7 separate regions of the Homo sapiens genome follow, and all the other regions are linked to region 6. The links are contacts of gene promoters, found by promoter capture Hi-C in blood cells and fetal thymus (Javierre and others, 2016). All regions are on one chromosome and are shown on one strand. Each heading gives the region's core, a stretch centred on a gene start or on the middle of the fragment in contact. The rest is flanking DNA. Distances are from core to core; before and after follow the strand shown. Region 1 has its middle 57 kb from the start of SLC28A3. Region 2 has its middle 10 kb from the start of SLC28A3. Region 3 has its middle 10 kb from the start of IDNK. Region 4 has its middle 41 kb from the start of SLC28A3. Region 5 overlaps UBQLN1 (ubiquilin 1). Region 6 holds the start of QNG1 (Q-nucleotide N-glycosylase 1). Region 7 overlaps IDNK (IDNK gluconokinase).

Region 1 (2,700 bases), core at 83-2,582, 440 kb after region 6:
CTGGTAGGAGTTGCAGAATTTATTTAGCCTCAGGTCTTTGGTGTTGCTGAATCAACCCAGATTTGTAGTAAACTCCAAGAGGCAGGTTAGCACTGGGCACTTGGGAACAGAACCCCTATGGACAAGGAGCAACAGACGATACTGGTGAGATGGCAGGCATAACAGGGTTAAAGACCTAATGGAGACCCCTAACGAGGCATTCAGCTGGATCTACATTAGCTCTGGAGGCAACCACCAGGACCACTTTGGACCTTATGCGTTTTATACCATGTGAATGTATTTCTATTAATATAAGTAAAATAATTTTAAGAAAAAGAAGGGAAGGGCATGCCCACCTGCTCTGTCATGCTGTTTGTCTCTGGCAGAGAGGCAGGTGCTCTGGAAGGAGCTGGCAGCCTGTGATGACCTAGAATGGCCACTTGGTGGCAGTGTTTCACTTTAATTGGCCCAAGGCAACCCGACCTGGTTTTATGAACTTCTAGCTGCGGATTTCTGGGACCCGCCCTCAAGGTTCAATTTATAGGCCTCGAGTGAAGATGCAAAATAGGATCCTGAGTGGAAAGTAATGGCTGTAACAGATATCCTCTGGCTCCTCCCTGTCTTCTTTCCCATTAGAACATCTCCCATCTAAGAGCTGCTTAGCAGGAGACAGGGGTCAATATCACAGAGGCCGGATCAGAGGCAGAAGCTGGGCTGCTTTAGGCCTGACACCGTGTGAGGGACCTGAAGGCAAGGAGCGTGGCTGCATCTGCCAGGCACGGGTGCTCAGGGGTGCTGCGAGTCCCCCAGGCCAAGGACGGGGCGTGCATTCATGGAGAGTGTTTGGCTGTCTTCTTTCCTGTGCTGGCGCGTTTCCAGGGGCCCACTCTTTCTGAGGGGTCTCTCAGGGAGGGCATGGCTGTGAAAAGTGAGGGAGGAAGCCGCAGGGATGTCACCTTCGGCCGGTTACAAAGCCCTTCTGGGCCACGTTCTCCTTTGTGGGATTGGGACGTTGATCCACTTCAGAGGCTCCCAGGCCCCCAGTTCAGGGCTGTCCCAGAATCACCAGAGAAATAAATTAACACAGATTCCGGGGCCCCGCCACTGCTCAGTCTATTCTATGGGTCTAGTTGGGAGCCCCGGAATCTGTGGGTTTAATAAACCCCAGAAGAACCCAATGAAGTTTGGAATCCAATGGTTAGGGGTGCTTTTTTGGATTCCTTCTAAGTGAGAAATTGTGACTGTGGAAGTGATGACTCACTGTGAAGCACACGGGCCCTGAAATCCACCCCTTCAAGCTGTTGATCTTTGTATGCATTTATTTCCTCAAGATGTTGCTGGCTCTTCCCGGGCCAGGAAGCAGATGCTGTGCCCGGTAAGGCCCGTCCTTCCAGTCCAGCCTTTACCACCCATGCGGAGTGAGGGTGAGGGCTCCGAAGGTGCTTTTGACCCTAATGTCATAACCATGGGGGGTGGACACAGATGTAAACTCGAAACTCTTCTTATTATTGAAAAATGTAAATATATACAAAAGTAAAGAGAATAGTATAATGAATCCTTATTTATCCACTACTTAGATTCAACAATTATCAAGATTTTGCCACATAGCTCTTATTCACATGCCAAGGGGGAGAAAAGAAGATTTTGCTATAGAAAAATTATCATACTTTCATTTTTTGTGTTTGTCTTTGCTGAAATTTTTGCTTGAAAAAGGCAAATATCCAGGTTTCTAGTCATTTCCGCCTACATGGGGCATTTCTTCTGTGCCTTTATTACATGTTAATAATGACTTCTCAGGCCGGGCATGGTGGCTCATACCTGCAATCCCAGGATTTTGGGAGGCTGAGGCTGGAGGATTTCTTAAGCCCAGGAGTTCAAGACCAGCCTGGGCAACATAGTAAAACCCCATCTCAATAAAGATATTTTTAAAAATATTAAAATTGTTTTTTAAAAGAGAAAATAAATAATAACTTCTCAATATCATATAATTCTGACCCATACTCAAATTCCTCCAGAATTAGCTCAAAAATGTCTTTTGACATTTGATTTGAGGTCTAGGCTTCTGAGGTTATCTCCTAATGTCTCCCAATACATGCATTTGCAAAGATCCATTGAAGGGGTTGGACATTTAAAACATAGCACAACTTTTTAGCCTGAAACACACACAGAGCCCTGCAGAAAAGTGAAGTTGAGATCCTCACAGGTTCTGAGTTAGAGGGGCCTTGGAGATTATTCAGCTCACCCTTTCCTCAGTACTGGAGTCCTTTGACAGGATCAGGACTACTGTACATTTGGTATTGAAATTGCTCTTGCAAAATTATGACGGTAAGAAATCTAAGTCCAGGCGCGGTGGCTCACGCCTGTAATCCCAGCACTTTGGGAGGCTGAGGTGGGCGGATCACCTGAGGTTGGGAGTTTGAGACCAGCCTGACCAACATGGAGAAACCCCATCTCTACTAAAAATACAAAATTTGCTGGGTGTGGTGGTGCATGCCTGTAATCCCAGCTACTCAGGAGGCTGAGGCAGGAGAATTGCTTGAACCTGGGAGGCGGATGTTGCAGTGAGCCGAGATCATGCCATTGCACTCCAGCCTGGGCAACAAGAGCGAGACTCTGTCTCAAAAAAAAAAAAAAAAAAAGAAATCTGATACAGTTGACTCCATCTTACTTCTGACCTCCAAGCTGTCCTTGGTCATTCATGAGCGTATGCCAAGCTAACTT
Region 2 (2,788 bases), core at 73-2,572, 390 kb after region 6:
TATAAATTACCCATTATGTAGAATTCTGTTATGACAGCAGAAAACAGACTAAGACAGCATCCATACACTCACGGGTCCATGGGAAACCTGTCAGTAGCCAGTTTTTTGAAAACCTTGAGTTGAGCCTCTAGGGCTCTGTCAGTGTTCAGTAGGGTAAGTATGTTACCATTACATGTGGTTGAATGAGGTTCACGAAGGGAGCAAAGAACAAACATTGATATGGGTTATAGGAATGGCAGAATGGCAACATGCAACTTATGGATAAACAAGAATCTTCCAGGAAGTGCATTCTTGAGTCTGGAAGATTTCCAGAGATGACAATCTTTTTTAATAACACAGCCATGTGTTACTTAACAATGGGGATACATTCTGAGAAATGAGTCCTTAGGCAGTTTTTTCATCATGCAAACATCACAGAGTGTATTTACACAAATCCAGATGGTATAGCCTAAAACACACCTAGGTTATATGGTATAGCCTGTGGCTCCTAGACTACAAACCTGTACAGCATGTTACTGTGCTGAATACTGTAGGCAATTATAACAAAATGGTAAGTATTTGTGCATTTAAATATATCTAAACATAGAAAAGGTATAGTAAAAAATATGGTAGGCCCGGCACGGTGGCTCATGCCTGTAATCCCAGCAACTTTGGGAGGCCAAGGCAGGTGGATCACCTGAGGTCTGGAGTTCAAGACCAGCCTGACTAATGTGGTGAAACCACGTCTCTACTAAAAATACAAAAATTAGCCGGGTGTGGTGGTGCATGCCTGTAATCCCAGCTACTCGGGAGGCTGAGGCAGGGGAATCGCTTGAACCAGGAGGCAGAGTTTGCAGTGAGCCAAGATTGCGTCATTGCACTCCAGCCTGGGCAACAAGAGTGAAACCAGGTCTCAAAAATAAATAAATAAATAAATAAATAGGTATAAAAATAAAAAATGAAAAATAATAAATAAATAAATAATGGTACACCTCTATAGGGCACTTACCATGGATGGAACTTACAGGACTAGGTTCTAGGTGAGTCAGTGAGTTAGTGGTGAGTTAATGTTAAGGCCTAGGGCATTACTGTTCAATAATGTAGACTTTATATAAACATTATACACTTAGGTTACACCAAATTTATTTAAAAATTTTCTTTATTCAATAAGAAATTAATCTTAGCTCACCATAACTTTTTTCTGAGACAGAGTGTTGCTCTGTCACCCAGGCTGGAGCACAGTGGTGCGATCTTGGCTCACTGCAACCTCCACCTCCCTGGGTTCAAGCAATTCTTGTGCCTCAGCCTCCCAGGTAGCTGTGACTACAGGCACGCACCACCACGTCTGGCTGATTTTTGTATTTTTAGTAGAGGTGGTTTCACCCTCTTGGCCAGGCTGGTATATCCTGACCTCAAGTGATCCTCCCACCTCAGCCTCCCAAAGTGCTGGGATTACAGGCATGAGCAACGGTGCCCAGTCAACTTTTTTACCTTATAAATGTTCTCATTTTTAAAATTTCTTGACTCTTGTAATAAAACCTAGCTTAAAATGCAAATGCAAATACATTGTATGGCTATACAAAAATATTTTCTTTATAGTCTTATTCTATCAGCATATATATAACTTTTTAAACTTCTTTGCTAAATACTACAGCATAAACACCCACATATTAGTCTAGGCCTACACAGGGTCAGGATCATCAAGATGTCACTACGTGATAAAATTTTTTCAGCTCCATTATAATCTTATGAGACTACTATTGTATATGAGGTCTCTTGTTGACTAAAATGATGTTTCAAGGTACATGACTTTATTAGTATCTGCCTGCAATGTTCAGAGAAAATGCAGAGGCTGGGTGCAGTGGCTCATGCCTGTAATCCCAGCACTTTGTGAGGCAGAGATGGGCTGATTGCTTGAGCCCAGGAGTCTGAGACCAACCTGGGCAACATGGTAAAACCCCAAATCTTAAAAAATGGAAAAAATTAGTTGGGCATGGTGGCATGCGCCTATAGTACCAGCTACTCAGGAGGCTGAAGTGAGAAGATCACCTGAGCCCCAGGAGGTCAAGGCTGCAGTGAGTTGTGATTGCACCACTGCACTCCAGCCTGGATGACAGAGTGAGACTCCATCTCAAAAAAAAAATTAAATTAAATTAAATTAAATTAAAAAAAAAAAGACAACGTAGGGACAATTGGCAAAAGTTGAATTTGGTAAAAGTAATGTATCAATATTAAATTTCCTGATCTTGATAATTGTATTGTGGTTATGTAAGAGAATGTCCTTAGGAAATACACGTTGGAGTATTTAGGAATAAAGTGATATAATGTCTGTGATTTTACTCCCAAAGGGTTCAGGAAAAAAAAAAAACATGTAAATGTATATGAGTATGAGAGAGAATAAATAAAACAAATGAGGCAAGACGCTAATGGTGAAACTGTAATGAGAGTTTTTTGCATTATTCTTGGATCTTTTCTACAAATTTAACATTATATGAAAACAAAAAGTTACAAAAAGAGATGCTTTTTGAATTATTCATATATGTAAACATATACATTTAGCATTTTTTTAATAAGTTATGTATGTGGATAGTGAAATGGTCTCAAACTATATATTATCCTGCAGATTTCCCTCTATGTGGTTAAGTACAGATTCCAAAAAATTTTGCTTTTTTTTTAAGACAGAGTCTCGCACTGTTGCCTGGGCTGGAGTGCAATGACGTGATCTTGGCTCACTGTAACCTCCGCCTCCTGGGTTCAAGTGATTCTCCTGCCTCAGCCTCCCAAGTAGTTGGGATTACAGGCACCCGCC
Region 3 (2,770 bases), core at 45-2,544, 340 kb before region 6:
CATCATTACTGTATAGATGAAAGAATGAGAGAAAGTGTACTTGAAGCGCATTAGAAAAGAAGATAATAGGTAATGCATGTCATCATTTAAAGTGTTGCCTGAATCAACTGGCCACTGTTAGAGGAGATAAGGACATACTCTGTCAAAGACATACTAAAGGGCATTTTTATTTTGTTTTGTTTTAAAGTGGACTTAATTTTTTTTAATAAAATGTAACTCTTATTTAGTGGCAAGTATTCACATACTAACACCTGTGAAGGAGTATTATGCAATGTCATTGGTGTCCGAGATAGTTATCAGCAAGTGCAATGTCAGCAGAAACACTAGCGGCCAGTTAGGGAATAAATCAAGCTGGAGGAGAGGAAGGTCGAGATCAATTTAGATTTCTAGCATACCAGACATTATTCATTCCTGCTTTGCCTGCAGGGGACACTTTCCTGGGTCGCTCACTGCTGCCGGCACCCGTAAATTAGGCAGGGAAGATCCCAGTTAAGTGTGTGTGTGATACATTACACACAAAGAAGTATATAAAATCTACATGTACAGCTTGAAATAAAAGAATAGATAAACATCTGTGTAATCAATATCTAGGCTAAGAAATAGAACATTACCAGTTCACTAGAGGACATTTGGTGCCTCTTCCAAGAGCTTTCGTTTTGAATTTTAGGTTAATCATTCTTTTCTTCTCTGCATAGTTTTAGTGTGTGTGTGTGTGTGTGTGTGTGTGTGTGTGTGTCTTTTAACTACAAATGTATTGCTTAATTTTCTTGTTTTTAAATTTTCTGTAATTGAGGATCATACGGATTGTATTCTTACAATCAGCAATATGGCTTTGATATGCTTTTGTAGCTGTAGTTTACTCATTTTATTTGTTGTACAGGGCTCCCTTGTTTGAATATGACATGACTTATAAAACCACTTCACCACTGATAGATATTCAGATTATTTCCAATTCGAGAGTATTGTGAACAAGACTTCTTGCACATTTGCGTACGTGTTTCCTGGTGTATAAACCTAGGAAGGGAATTGCAGAATTGTATTTGATTGCAGTTTTTAGATATATAGACCTAGGAAGGGAATTGCAGAATTGTATTTGATTGCAGTTTTTAGATATATAGACCAAAGGAACAGACCAGAGAACTCAGAAATAACACCACACATCTACAACCATCTAATCTTCAACAGACCTGACAAAAGCAAGCAACGGGGAAAGGATTTCCTATTTAATAAATGGCTGGGAAAACTGACTAGCCCATATGCAGAAAACTGAAACTGGACCCCTTCCTTACAACTTACACAAAAATTAACTCAAGATGGCTTAAAGACTTAAATGTAAGACCTAAAACCATAAAAACCCTAGAAGAAAACCTAGGCATTACCATTCAGGACATAGGCATGGACAAAGACTTCATGATTAAAACACCAAAAGCAATGGCAACAAAAGCCAAAATTGACAAATGAGATCTAATTATACTAAAGAGCTTCTGCACAGCAAAAGAAACTGTCATCAGAGTGAACAGGCAACCTACAGAATGGGAGAAAAATTTTGCAATCTATCCATCTGACAAAGGGCTAATATCCAGAATCTACAAAGAACATAAACAAATTTACAAGAGAAAAACAAACAATCTCATCAAAAAGTGGGCAAAGGATATGAACAGACGCTTCTCCAAAGAAGACATTTATGCAGCCAACAGACATATGAAAAAATGCTCGTCATCACTGGTCATCAGAGAAATGCAAATCAAAGCCACAATGCAATACCATCTCATGCCAGTTAGAATGGCGATCATTAAAAAGTTAGGAAACAACAGATGCTGGAGAGGATGTGGAGAAATAGGAACGCTTTTACACTGTTGGTGGGAGTGTAAATTAGTTCAACCATTGTGGAAGACAGTGTGGCGATTCCTCAAGGATCTAGAACTAGAAATACCATTTGACCCAGCAATCCCATTACTGGGTATATACCCAAAGGATTATAAATTATGCCACTATAAAGACACATGCACACGTATCTTTATTGCAGCACTATTTACAATAGCAAAGACTTGGAACCAACCCAAATGCCCATCAGTGATAGACGGGATTAAGAAAATGTGGCACATATACACCATGGAATACTATGCAGCCATAAAAAAGAATGAGTTCATGTCTTTGCAGGGACATGGATGAAGCTGGAAACCATCATCCTCAGCAAACTAACACAAGAACAGAAAACCAAACACTGTATGTTCCCACTCACAAGTGGAAGTTGAACAGTGAGAACACATGGACACAGGGAAGGGAACATCACACACTGGGGCCTGTTGGGCGGAGTGGGGGGCAAGCAGAGGGAGAGCATTAAGACAAATACCTAATGCATGCGAGGCTTAAAACCTAGATGACCGGTTGATAGGTGCAACAAACCACCATGGCACATGTATACCTATGTAACAAACCTGCGCATTCAGTACCTGTATTCCAGAACTTAAAGTAAAATTTTAAAAAGTAATTAATTTTAAAAAAAAGTAATGGCACTAACCTAATAGGATATGTGCATATTCAGTTTTACTCTATCAGGCGAAACTGTTTTTTCCAGAGCAGTGATAACAGTTTACATTTCCTTCAGCAGAGGACGAGTGTCTTCAAGCTTCACACCCCAGCCAGCATTTGGTACTGTTCCACTTTGTATTTTTCCAGTTTGCTTCGTATGTACATGGTACCTCATAATTTTATTTTGGTGGTTTGTTTTTTGTTTTTTGTTTTTGAGACAGGGTCTCACTCTGTAGCC
Region 4 (2,700 bases), core at 4-2,503, 420 kb after region 6:
TATATTTTAATGCCTGGGCACAGTGGCTCATGCCTGTAATCCCAGCACTTTGGGATGCCAAGGCTGGTGGATCACCTGAGGTCAGGAGTTTGAGACCAGCCTGGGCAACATGGTGAAAGCCTGTCTCTACTAAAAATACAAAAATTAGCCCGGTGTGGTGGCAGGTGCCTGTAATCCCAGCTACTCAGGAGACTGAGGCAGGAGAATCACTTGAACCCTTGAACCCAGAAGACAGAGATTGCAGTGAGCTGGGATCGCGCCATTGCCCTCCAGCCTGGGTGACCGGAGCAAGACTCTGTCTCAAAAACAAACAAACAAACAAACAAATAAACAAACAAAAAAGAGTATGCATATTTTAAGAAGAAAATTAAAAAATAAAGAGTATGTATATTTTATTATTTTATGTAAATTGTGTGCTATATATCTTTCATATTAGTGAGTTTATAATAATCTTAGGTATATACATATGTTTATGTGTGCATACACATAGGGACTTATTTTGGGAGAATCAATTGTTAAACATTTACCAGCACTAGTTTTTTTTCTTTTTTTTTTTTTTGAGACAGAGTTTCTCTCTTGTCACCCAGGCTGGAGTGCAGTGGCGCGATCTTGGCTCACTGCAACCTCTGCCTCCCAAGTTCAGGCGATTCTCCTGCCTCAGCCTCCCGAGTAGCTGGGACTGCAGGCATGCACCAACATGCCCAGCTAATTTTGTACTTTTAGTAGAGATGGGGTTTCGCCACCAACATGCCCAGCTAATTTTGTACTTTTAGTAGAGATGGGGTTTCGCCATGTTGGCCAGGCTGGTCTCGAACTCCTGACCTAGGTGATCTGCCTGCCTCAGCCTTCCAAAGTGCTGGGATTACAGGCGTGAACCACCATGCCCGGCCTACCAGCACTAGTTTTATAGGAAAAACAATATGGTGGCAAATGCCAGCATCAAGATGGATGACACTTTCCTGGATGTGGTTATAAGAAATTCTTCCCAATAAACAATCCTGGAGAGTAAACTCTTTCTTTGATCTTTGTTTATAGAACAGTCTCTTTCTATAAATAAGACCTGAGATTGTGGGTCACATATGTAACTTGTGTCTACTCAGGCCACCTCACACCAGGGCACAGGTGACATTTTGCTCAGTGACATTTTGCTGACCTTGTTCCTACTTGCTGTTTCAGGTCTTCCAGTCCCCCCCTTGACATTTCTGTGACTTCCCAGGGATGTGTCACCAATCCCATCCTCTTGTGAAGGAAATTCTATGACTTTTCCTTGCTTTTAGGGATGCTCAGGCCCTCATGAGCTCCTTTTAGGGCCTATGTGATTTGGTGCATGCCTCCTCCCCTCAGGGCCTTTGCACATTCCACTTCTTCTGGCCAAGGGACCCCAATCCTGCTCCTGGTCAATGCCAACCATGGGACTTTCCAGCTTTAGCAAGGCCATTCCTGACCTCCCCAAATTTCTTTCAGACTAGCCTGTGCTCTGCCACACTGCTTACCGCTGTTGTGCACATACACTTTGGTGTGGTTGTTTAATATCAGCTCATCTTTGAACTCTCAGTGACTTTAGAACAGGGACCAACTTGACTTTGTCATCACTGCTTGCCTAGCACCTAACGCAGTACCTGGCATTGATAAATAAGTGTGTGTTATCTTGACAACAGCCAGGCACAACCTTAGCTGTTGCCAAGAGGCCAGGCTGAGGCTTCCCTGCAGAGGTTCCTTGAGTGTGTGTGTTTTTTTTTTTTTTTGGTGAGACATTCTCACTCCGAGCCTAGGCTGGAGTGCAGTGGCACAATCTTGGCTCACTGCAACCTCTGTATCCTGGGCTCAAGAGATTCTTGTGCCTCAGCTTCCCGAGTAGCTGGGACTACAGGCTCATGCCAACATGCCTGGCTAATTTTTGTATTTTTAGTAGAGACGGGGTTTCACCATGTTGGCTGGGCTGGTCTTGAACTCTTGGCCTCAAGCAATCCACCTGCCTTGGCCTCCCAAAGTTCTGGGATTATAGGCGTGAGCCACCGTGCCCAGCTGAGCATGTGGTTTTAAAGCCCATTTTAACTGGTGCCTGCTCGAGCACCTTGCAGTCTGCTGAAGGACGAGAAAGAACACAATGGTATCCGGAGGCAGGAGGGTGGCTGTCCTGGAAGGAAGCCCACAGGGGGGTTCTAGGGCTATGGAAATGTTCTGTCCCTGGATTTGGGTGATAGTGACATGTAAACATGTGTACGTTATGCGGATGTTATGTCTCAATTACAAAAATAATAGAAGGAGGTAGTAGAGTGTACAGATTGCCTGGGCTCTGGACTCAGGCAGCTCTGAGTCTGAATCCACAGCTAAATGACATGTCCAGGTCCCTTCTCCAGACCTCAGTTTTCTCATTTACAAAATGGGTATTATATCTTTTTTTTTTATACTTTAAGTTTTAGGGTACATGTGCACATTGTGCAGGTTAGTTACATATGTATACATGTGCCATGCTGGTGCGCTGCACCCACTAACTCGTCATCTAGCATTAGGTATATCTCCCAATGCTATCCCTCCCCCCTCCCCTCCAAAATGGGTATTATATCTTTACCCTTATGGTTATGTGTAAGGCTTAGCAAATTTTAGGATTAGAAATTCAGTAACTTGTAAAGGCAATTCTTCTTTGCCTACTTTATTACCGTGGAAGTTGTTAAAAAAACAAAACAAAACAAAAAACAA
Region 5 (2,700 bases), core at 195-2,694, 290 kb before region 6:
AATAACTGAAACATCAAGACACTTTTTCAGTGAAAGCAACATTTCAATTACAAATTTTAATGCCTGTTAAACTACCTATGGGAGAAGCTGAGAAGTCCTAGGCAAATGCACTTTGGGGTATACTACAGTGTTCCTTCAGTCTGCACAAAGATTAAGGTAATTTACAGTCAATCTGTGAATGAATGTTGAGACAATGTTACATTATGTGTCTGTACAATTAATTGTCCTTAAAGAGATAACCAGAATCAGCTTTTCTACTGTATTTTCAACAAACCTGACTAACCGGCACTTTTGCTGGGAGATGTTTGTCAAAGATGCTGTAAGATTCTATACAATTAGGAAATACTCAGCTTTAAGAGTATTTTCTTATCTTCACTTTTTTAGTTACAGGTGTTTTGCTCAGAGAGCCTATTGCAGTATGTTTCCAGAAATGCAGTCCCAAATGTGCATACTCTATATTGTATACAAATAAAACAAAATTATCAGTAGTATAAATCTTACAGCATTGTTTGCAAAAATGCATGCCAAAGTCACAATAAGCAATACTGTACCACAAATTATAGAGTGCAAATGATTTGCTTCTTTTTAATGCTTTTATTCTACATAAATTACTACCATAGGCTAATGTTTAAAAAGCAAATAAACTGGACAGATGCAGGACAAAATCTGGTCACCCAACTATAAAAGGTGATGTTTTTAAAAAATTACAATAAATGCAGAAGTGATGCATGCAGTAGCCTTAATTCCCACTGTTCCAGAAAAGAAAAATACAGAAAAACCCACACATCTTACTGTACTCCACCTTAAAATGCATCATATTGGGTTTGTTTATAACAGCACAGAATTCCAAGAGTCAAAATGAAATAAAGCAGGTATTTTAAAGTTTAAGAGCCGTTATCAAAAATAAATTACATTTTTTCAAGATACAGAAATGCTGCTATGATGGCTGGGAGCCCAGTAACCTTTCAATAGCTGCATTGATATCACCTCCTGTTGCTATTAGAGCTTGCAAGTTTGCTTCACGGTTCAAAAATCCCATTGCACTGAGTTGTTCCAGTTGTTGCTGAAATCTGACTTCTGGATTCTGTAGCTATTAAAGAAAAAAAAAATTAATCCAACTCTAAAGGAAGCCAGTCCCTGCCACACATGACTTTTAAAATTTTTTAATTGCTTTTTTATAACATATGCTGATCTACTGAGCTTTAAAAACACTGCCCACCTCTTGAAACTTATCCAACATATTTAAAAGTCCATTAGCAGTTTATTTTAAATAGTCTAGTTTGTACCTAAATAATCATGTCAAATAGATCACGACTCTACTTTAGGGGAGGGGGAGAAAAGCTTAATAAACATCAACCATTATTTTAGAGGATCACGTACATGCAGAAAAACCTGTATGTGTGTGTGTATATACATATACATATACACACACACACACACACACACACACACACACACACACACAGATAGTTCAGAATTAGATGATTTGTGTAGCTACTGACCAATTGAGTAACTATAAAAGCTGGTATCCTCATGTATAAAATTCTAAAGCTTCAATGATTCTTCGAATGAATGTGAGTTTAATTTTTGCACTGGACAGTCAATTCTTAGAAAAGAGCTTCAGTTTCAGGCCCAAAATTATACTCTTAATTCTGACATTTCAGCAGCATCAAATCTTTTCTTCAGAAATGAAGTTAAAAAAAAAAATCTCCATATAAATGACCAATCAATCCTAGGCCTACCTGATAATTTGGAGGCTTGTAAGTTAACTTATGTCACAATTAATTCTAATACTCCAAATCCTTCTTTCTTATTTATTCCATGAATATTTACTGAGTACCTACCAAGAGCCAGAAACTATGCTACGCTAGCTTATCAGGAATACAGATATGTATGAGACAGAACCCTACCCTATTTATTATATTTAGTAAGGCTTGAAAACAGAAAGCAGGCCAGGCTCACGCCTGTAATCCCAGCACTTTGGGAGGCCAAGGCGGGTGAGATCGCTTGAGCTCAGGAGTTTGAGACCAACCTGGGCAACACGGTTGAAACCCCAGCTCTACAAAAAATACAAAAATTAGCCAGGTGTGGTGGTCTGCGCCTGTAATCCCAGCTACTCCAGAGGCTAAGGTGGGAGGATTGCTGCAGCCCAGGAGGTGCAGGTCGCAGTGAGCTGTGATTGCATCCAGCCTGGGCACTTTGTCAAAAGGGAAAGGGAAAGAAAAAAAAAAAAGGGAAAGGCAAAGAGGGGAAAGAGGAAAAAGGGGAAAGGGGGAAGGGGAAGAGGAAAGGGAAAAGGGAAAGGGGAAGAGGAAGGAGGAAAAGGAAAGGGGAAAGGAGAAAGGGAAAGAAAAAAGAAACCCAGAAAAGAAAACAGAAAGCACCTAACAGACCTTGAGACATTAAGAAGTTTGGGGACAACCTAATAAAACAGGTTTAAACTGGCGATCATCTTTATATAATGGCACATTATTAGTAAAACCAATGTATGTTTGTAGATGCAACCACATTATTAGGGGGTCCATATTCTTTAGCCATATTTACGAGATATATATATATGTAACACAAGCTACCGCAGGAGGTGGTGTCATGGGTGGAGTTAAGGTAGTTAGGACTTTTTTCCAGTCAAAAGACAGACTAGAATACAGCTGCCCTGGAGGTACTTGGGATAATCAAGTTTCCATTCCTCCCTAAGAACTT
Region 6 (2,700 bases), core at 103-2,602:
AGTCACATCTCTGTAAGAAGGAAAACTTTCAACCACCAGGTGCATTAACTTCTGCGCACTATTCTCACTTTCTCGGACGCAGTTGAGAAAAGAGCCTCCAAACTTCTCCAGCAGAATTTTCCCGGTTTCATTGAGAATCCGATGCCTCTCTTCTACTAAAGGCATGGAAACGTCTGTGTCAGAACGAAGTATATTCCGAACCTGATCCAGGGTCACTGTCGCGTAGTACGAGGCACTAGTTATTGGTATCCCTTTAGTGAAAAAATAAAATTCAGAGGACCAATGTCATACTTCCATATGCATTAAACCCTTGCTTTTACAACATGGAATTAATATGAAACCAAATGAGTGGTATAGGAATGCACCAAAAGTGGAAGAATAAAAAATCTAAAGCAAAACTCATTTTCTACTTGTTCATCTGTACTTATTCACCCATTTCTAACTATTGCAATATTACATCAGATGTATTCTGAGTAAATTGCTTTATAACATCGGTCCTTTTGTTCTTCAGGTGTCATTCAAATGGCATTCTTTATAAAACTGACTTTTATGCTACTGTAACTTTTATGCTGCAATGATAAATATTAACATCATTTTCCACTAAAATATGCCCCTTTTCATACTTCTATTTTAAGCATAAGGACTTGCAACGAACTTCAGGTTCGCTTTCCATTATTCCATCTCCCAACCCGCTCCTTGGAACTCCCCTACACACACCCCAAGTAAATGGAAACCTCAAAGGCCGTTAGGTCCGATGGCAAGTATGGCACCAACCTTCGTCGAGGGCTCTGTTGACGGCGGCGCACAGGGACCAGTACCCACTGTATGTTTTCCCTCTGTACCTCACCACACACTTGTGCTCGTCCTGCTCCGACCAAAAGGAGAAGTTGAGCGTGTCTGTCACGAACACCCAGTTGACCGCGGCCTCGTCGGCCGCCCTGGGGTTCAGCTCATGAAGGGCTTTCCACCCCTCCACGCGCAGCTCTGGCCCCGCCGCCTTGGCCAGCAGCAGCTCTGCCACCCTCCGTACGCCTCCGCTGTCAATAAACACATCCCGACTGTTTTCTGCAATGAATTTAGAGGATTCCCTGGGATTTAGGAGCCCGTCCATTCTGCCCTTTGGGACCCGGCGGGCCAAACTCTTCCCGCCCTAGGCGGGTCAAGGTCCACTCTGCGCCTTGCGCTACTACGAACCGCGCGATCACAGGGCCTAAACAAGGTCCCGCCCTGCCAGGGAGTGGCACCGAGAACTTAGTGCAGCCAAGGTAAAGGTTCTCTCCCGCGGCGTTGCCCTGATTAGGAAACCAGAGAGACCCCGGGGCAGCTCGCTGGGCAGAGGCCGCAAGCACTTCCGGGAAAGCGGTCCCGTTCACGCCCTCTCGGGCGCGCTCTCAGGCTCCGCTTCCGGTTCCAAAGGTCTGGAAACTGCTAAGGGTCCGGCGTTCACCGGCCGTGAGTTGCCCACCCTGGGAGGTGCATGGCTTTGCCATGTTTTGCCTTTTCTCACCCCGCTTCGGACAGGTGGGACTCGAAGACGGCGACTCGCCGCCTTGCCCTGGGTCGCGATGCCCCCACCCCGCTCCCACCCCTCTCCTTTCCCGCAGCCTGAGCAAGACGCCTTCGGCAACGCCCCGCATCCGGGCTCCTTGGCCTCGAAGAGCATTATGGCCGTAGATCTGGGTGCTGAGGACTGAGCCACCCCCAGACTGCGACATGGGCGGCGGTGCCTCCTTCCCCAAGCCCCAGGGAGTGTTTTTTTGTTTGTTTTGTTTTTTGTTTTTGTTTAAGTGAATTCCTGGCCCATTTGGCCGAACGAACGTTAGGATTAGTTGGAAGGTTTGGAGAAATGGATGAGGAAACAAATGTGTTAAATTGTTAAATTAACCTTGTGTGCCTGGCAGTGTACTTAAGTACTAAATCTCACCTAGGCTGGGTCATGACGAAAGCGGCTATTGTGATCCCGCTTTTGCAAGTGAAGCTGAGTGGTTCATTGATTAACCCCCATCACAGCAATGGTTTGGGCTAGGATTTAAACCTTTGATAATTGAGCCCCCTAAATCGAGGGCACTTTATGAGCCAATCACCAGTGCCAACCATTCTGGTCAGTCAAATAGTGACTATATCAGTGGCCCTACTGAGAAGACATTAAAAATGAGGAAATAAGTGTCTCACAACTGCAAACTTACACAAGTACCTTATATTAGGAGAGAGGTGTAGAAGCCAATTTAGTGATGATCCAAATTTGACTGGTGATGAAGTTTTAGTATAAAGGTATGCATTTTTTTTCCTTTTGGAGACTTAAATCTCCATGGATAACGTTCACATCTTTGAAAATCACCTATTAAAAATAATCATCAGTACCCATCTCTAGTTACCGACAGGAAAATCTTGGTATTTTTGGAGGATTCGGAGCTTTTAAATTTGTTTGTTTGAGACAGAATCTCACCCTGTCGCCCAGGCTGGAGTGCAGTGGCATGATCTCAGCTCACTGCAACCTCCACCTCCCCGGTTCAAGTGATTCTCCCTGCCTCAGCTTCCCAAGTAGCTGGGATTATAGGTGTCAGCCACCACACCTGACTAATTTTTGTATTTTTAGTAGAGATGGGGTTTCCCTATGTGGGCCAGGCTGGTCTCAAACTCCTGACCTCAGGTAATCCACCCTCCTCGGCCTCCCAAATGGAGCTTTTTTTTTGAGACGGA
Region 7 (2,700 bases), core at 92-2,591, 320 kb before region 6:
CCATCTCCCCGCCATTCCCACTCCCCATCTTCCTTCCCGTCTCTCTCCACCCATATTCTACCATTATCTGTTCTCTCTTTACCCATCATCCCCTTCCAAAAGACATTTAATTTCTCAAGATGTTTCCATAGGCCAAGAAAGCTTTCTCTAGCCTCATGACATTCTGATTTCACTCTTCGTAGAGCATTCATTGTGCTCACCTCCGAGCACTGGGCTGGGAGTCGGGAGTGCACTGCCTTCCCCATCTTTGCGTGTAGGGACTATCTAGAGCAGGGGTGTCCAGTCGTTTGGCTTCCCTGGGCCACACTGGAAGAAGAATTGTCTTGGGCCACACATAAAATACACTAACATTAACGATAGCTGATGAGCAAAAAAAAAAAAAAAAAAAAAAAAAATCACAAAAAAAATCTCATGTTTTAAGGAAGTTTACAAATTTATGTTGGGCCACATTCAAAGCCGCAGTAGGGTTTGCGGGCTGTGTGTTGTACAAGCTTGATCTGGAGTGTGAAAACCTTGAACATCAGAGCCATAGGCAGAGATGCTAATTTGGATTGTCTCATTTCTTTCCTCTAAAACTTCTGTGTGTTTGATTTTCATAACTTATTATATTGTCCACAGTAACTGTCTGGAAGGCATAGAGCTCAGTGAATTTGCTCTAATATCTCCTTCTTCCAATTTCTTCACTGTAGAGAGATCTCAATTCCCCCCTTTCTTCATTATGAACATAAAATTTGGAGCTCATGTGTCTAGGTCCTTCCTAGCACCTTTACAATAAGGTCCACACTCCTTAGCAGGCCAGTCAAGGTCTTGAAATTATCTTTATCTTTTAAGATTTACTCTTTCCAAGGCCTGATCAAGATTGGCCTGTCCTCCAGGCGCAGTGGCTCACGCCTGTAATCCCAGCACTTTGGGAGGCCGAGGCGGGCAGATCACAAGGTCAGGAGATCGAGACCATCCTGGCTAACACGGTGAAATCCCGTCTCTACTAAAAATACACAAAATTAGCCGGGCGTGGTGGCAGGCGCCTGTAGTCCCAGCTACTCGGGAGGCTGAGGCGGGAGAATGGCGTGAACCCAGGAGGTGGAGCTTGCAGTGAGCCAAGATCACACCACTGCACTCCAGCCTGGGTGACAGAGCAAGACTACATCTCAAAAATAAAAAAATAAAAGAAGATTGGCCTGTCCTCCTGCTGTGTTATCATAGCCCTTCTTAGTATATCTCCCACAGCCCTCATCACTGCCCTGCAGGTGACTTAATAGATTACTCATTTGCCTCTTCTCTTTGAGGACAGGAACCACACCATTCATATTTATCCCCAGTGCTCACTCAGTATGGTGCTTTGCACCACATTTAATGTTTGTGGAATTAAGGCCCAGTGCCTACCAAATTCATGAATTTAAACTCTTTCAAAAATTCAGAGTTGGAAATAAGTACTGTTTATTTCAACTGTTAAATCAACCAAAAAATAGTTTATTCCTTTTCTTATTTAAATCCCAGAGCAGCTCAATGAATTATATACGATCCCCACTTTACAAATGAACAAAGAGAGGTGCAGAGAAATTAAGTAACTTGAGCAAAGCCACACAGCAAAGGGAGTCTTTCTAACTTCAAAGATCATACTTCTCCTACTGTGTTAAAGGCCCTGATCATCCAACCATTAAACAAATGATTCACAAGAAGTGAATCAAGGTTTGTTAAATTGAGAGAAAAGGGTTAGACAGAGGGTGAGAATGACAGCAGGAATGAGAGGGGCAGTTCCCCACAAGCACATCCATGGTAGGGGTTAGGCCTTAAAGATGTCTGAGGCACTGACTTAAAGGGTGGTCATGACGGCACTGACATGGTAGCCTGGCTTAAAGCAGGTCAGGCACTAGAACTTGAATTTCTACACTGGCGCTGCCTTGGAAAAAACCTTTCTCCTTGTGGCTTTATGGGAATCTCCAAAGAAAATTCATAATCATTTAATTATGATTCACTATTTGGAAATTTCAGGAATAATGTTCAAAGTGCTGCTCTTTTATTTCCAACCCTCTCTATTGTTTTTATGACTGATGGACACAGTCCTTACTGGTGCATGGTCATTAATCTGGTCTGCCATAAATTCCGATAAGGTGGATGTCTAAAAGCACCTATTTTTGTTTAAATAGTTTTATATTTATGTTTATTATGGCTTTCATAGTTGAGATTCTGAAAAGCTTTATTATGACTAGATGAAGCAGTGTGCTTTATTATTGACTAAAGCATCCATTAAGGCACTATTAAAACAATGAAAAAACATGTATTCAAAGTAAAGCTCTATTTCTTTGTACACAAGATAGAAAACTTATTACCCAAATATGTTTTCTGTAATTTTTGTTTGTTTCATTCTTATGAAATATTTCAGGCACATAGAAAGTATAATGAATAAGATAGTCAACACTCAGCTTAATGAAAAGTATATTTGTTTCCTAAGCCATAAAATAATACAGAGATTGATCTCCATTTCCACAGCACAAGCAAATAGAAATATTTGTGCAGATGGAATGGCGGAATGTACAATCTGAGCAAAATAGCAAAATGCAAGTTTGTGCCTCTGCTAATAAGAAAGAAATTCTGGTATTTAAACAAATTGTCCTCTCTCTTTGGTTCACCCCAAACTCATTATGAACATTTACTCGTGCCAAAAAGAAATTAATTTTTTTCTGTGTATTTCATCTCTGA

The links. Contacts are between HindIII fragments. The CHiCAGO score rates a contact against its expected background, and 5 or more counts as called.
Region 1: a fragment that was not itself captured here is called in contact with the fragment with the promoter of QNG1 in region 6 in 2 of 17 cell types (M2 macrophages and neutrophils); the score reaches 7.0 in M2 macrophages.
Region 2: a fragment that was not itself captured here is called in contact with the fragment with the promoter of QNG1 in region 6 in 5 of 17 cell types (M0 macrophages, neutrophils, erythroblasts and 2 more); the score reaches 7.1 in M0 macrophages.
Region 3: a contact is called between a fragment that was not itself captured here and the fragment with the promoter of QNG1 in region 6, in 3 of 17 cell types (naive CD8 T cells, non-activated CD4 T cells and total CD4 T cells). The highest score is 8.1, in naive CD8 T cells.
Region 4: a fragment that was not itself captured here is called in contact with the fragment with the promoter of QNG1 in region 6 in 5 of 17 cell types (M2 macrophages, M0 macrophages, neutrophils and 2 more); the score reaches 8.0 in M2 macrophages.
Region 5: a contact is called between a fragment that was not itself captured here and the fragment with the promoter of QNG1 in region 6, in 4 of 17 cell types (non-activated CD4 T cells, total CD8 T cells, total B cells and 1 more). The highest score is 7.8, in non-activated CD4 T cells.
Region 7: a contact is called between a fragment that was not itself captured here and the fragment with the promoter of QNG1 in region 6, in 1 of 17 cell types (activated CD4 T cells). The highest score is 5.1, in activated CD4 T cells.

Annotation. Positions count from the first base shown.
Region 1 is chr9:84,396,834-84,399,533 of GRCh38, forward strand. No RefSeq gene overlaps it. Among named protein-coding and RNA genes, the nearest start is that of SLC28A3, 57 kb to the left of the region's middle. The HindIII fragment of the contact is 7,909 bases long and covers 1-2,700 here.
Region 2 is chr9:84,349,548-84,352,335 of GRCh38, forward strand. It overlaps a transcript of SLC28A3 not described here. Among named protein-coding and RNA genes, the nearest start is that of SLC28A3, 10 kb to the left of the region's middle. The HindIII fragment of the contact is 4,870 bases long and covers 1-2,788 here.
Region 3 is chr9:83,611,365-83,614,134 of GRCh38, forward strand. No RefSeq gene overlaps it. Among named protein-coding and RNA genes, the nearest start is that of IDNK, 10 kb to the right of the region's middle. The HindIII fragment of the contact is 2,666 bases long and covers 1-2,627 here.
Region 4 is chr9:84,380,073-84,382,772 of GRCh38, forward strand. No RefSeq gene overlaps it. Among named protein-coding and RNA genes, the nearest start is that of SLC28A3, 41 kb to the left of the region's middle. The HindIII fragment of the contact is 6,565 bases long and covers 1-2,700 here.
Region 5 is chr9:83,660,850-83,663,549 of GRCh38, forward strand. It overlaps UBQLN1 (ubiquilin 1), which reads right to left. Exons shown (of 11, transcript NM_013438.5): 11 at 1-1,090. The coding sequence ends at 938. Among named protein-coding and RNA genes, the nearest start is that of IDNK, 39 kb to the left of the region's middle. The HindIII fragment of the contact is 210 bases long and covers 1,340-1,549 here.
Region 6 is chr9:83,955,390-83,958,089 of GRCh38, forward strand. It overlaps QNG1 (Q-nucleotide N-glycosylase 1), which reads right to left and starts at 1,353. Exons shown (of 4, transcript NM_032307.5): 1 at 775-1,353; 2 at 1-251. The coding sequence starts at 1,111. The HindIII fragment of the contact is 8,080 bases long and covers 1-2,700 here.
Region 7 is chr9:83,632,189-83,634,888 of GRCh38, forward strand. All of the region lies in intron 3 of IDNK (IDNK gluconokinase), which reads left to right. Among named protein-coding and RNA genes, the nearest start is that of IDNK, 10 kb to the left of the region's middle. The HindIII fragment of the contact is 1,704 bases long and covers 490-2,193 here.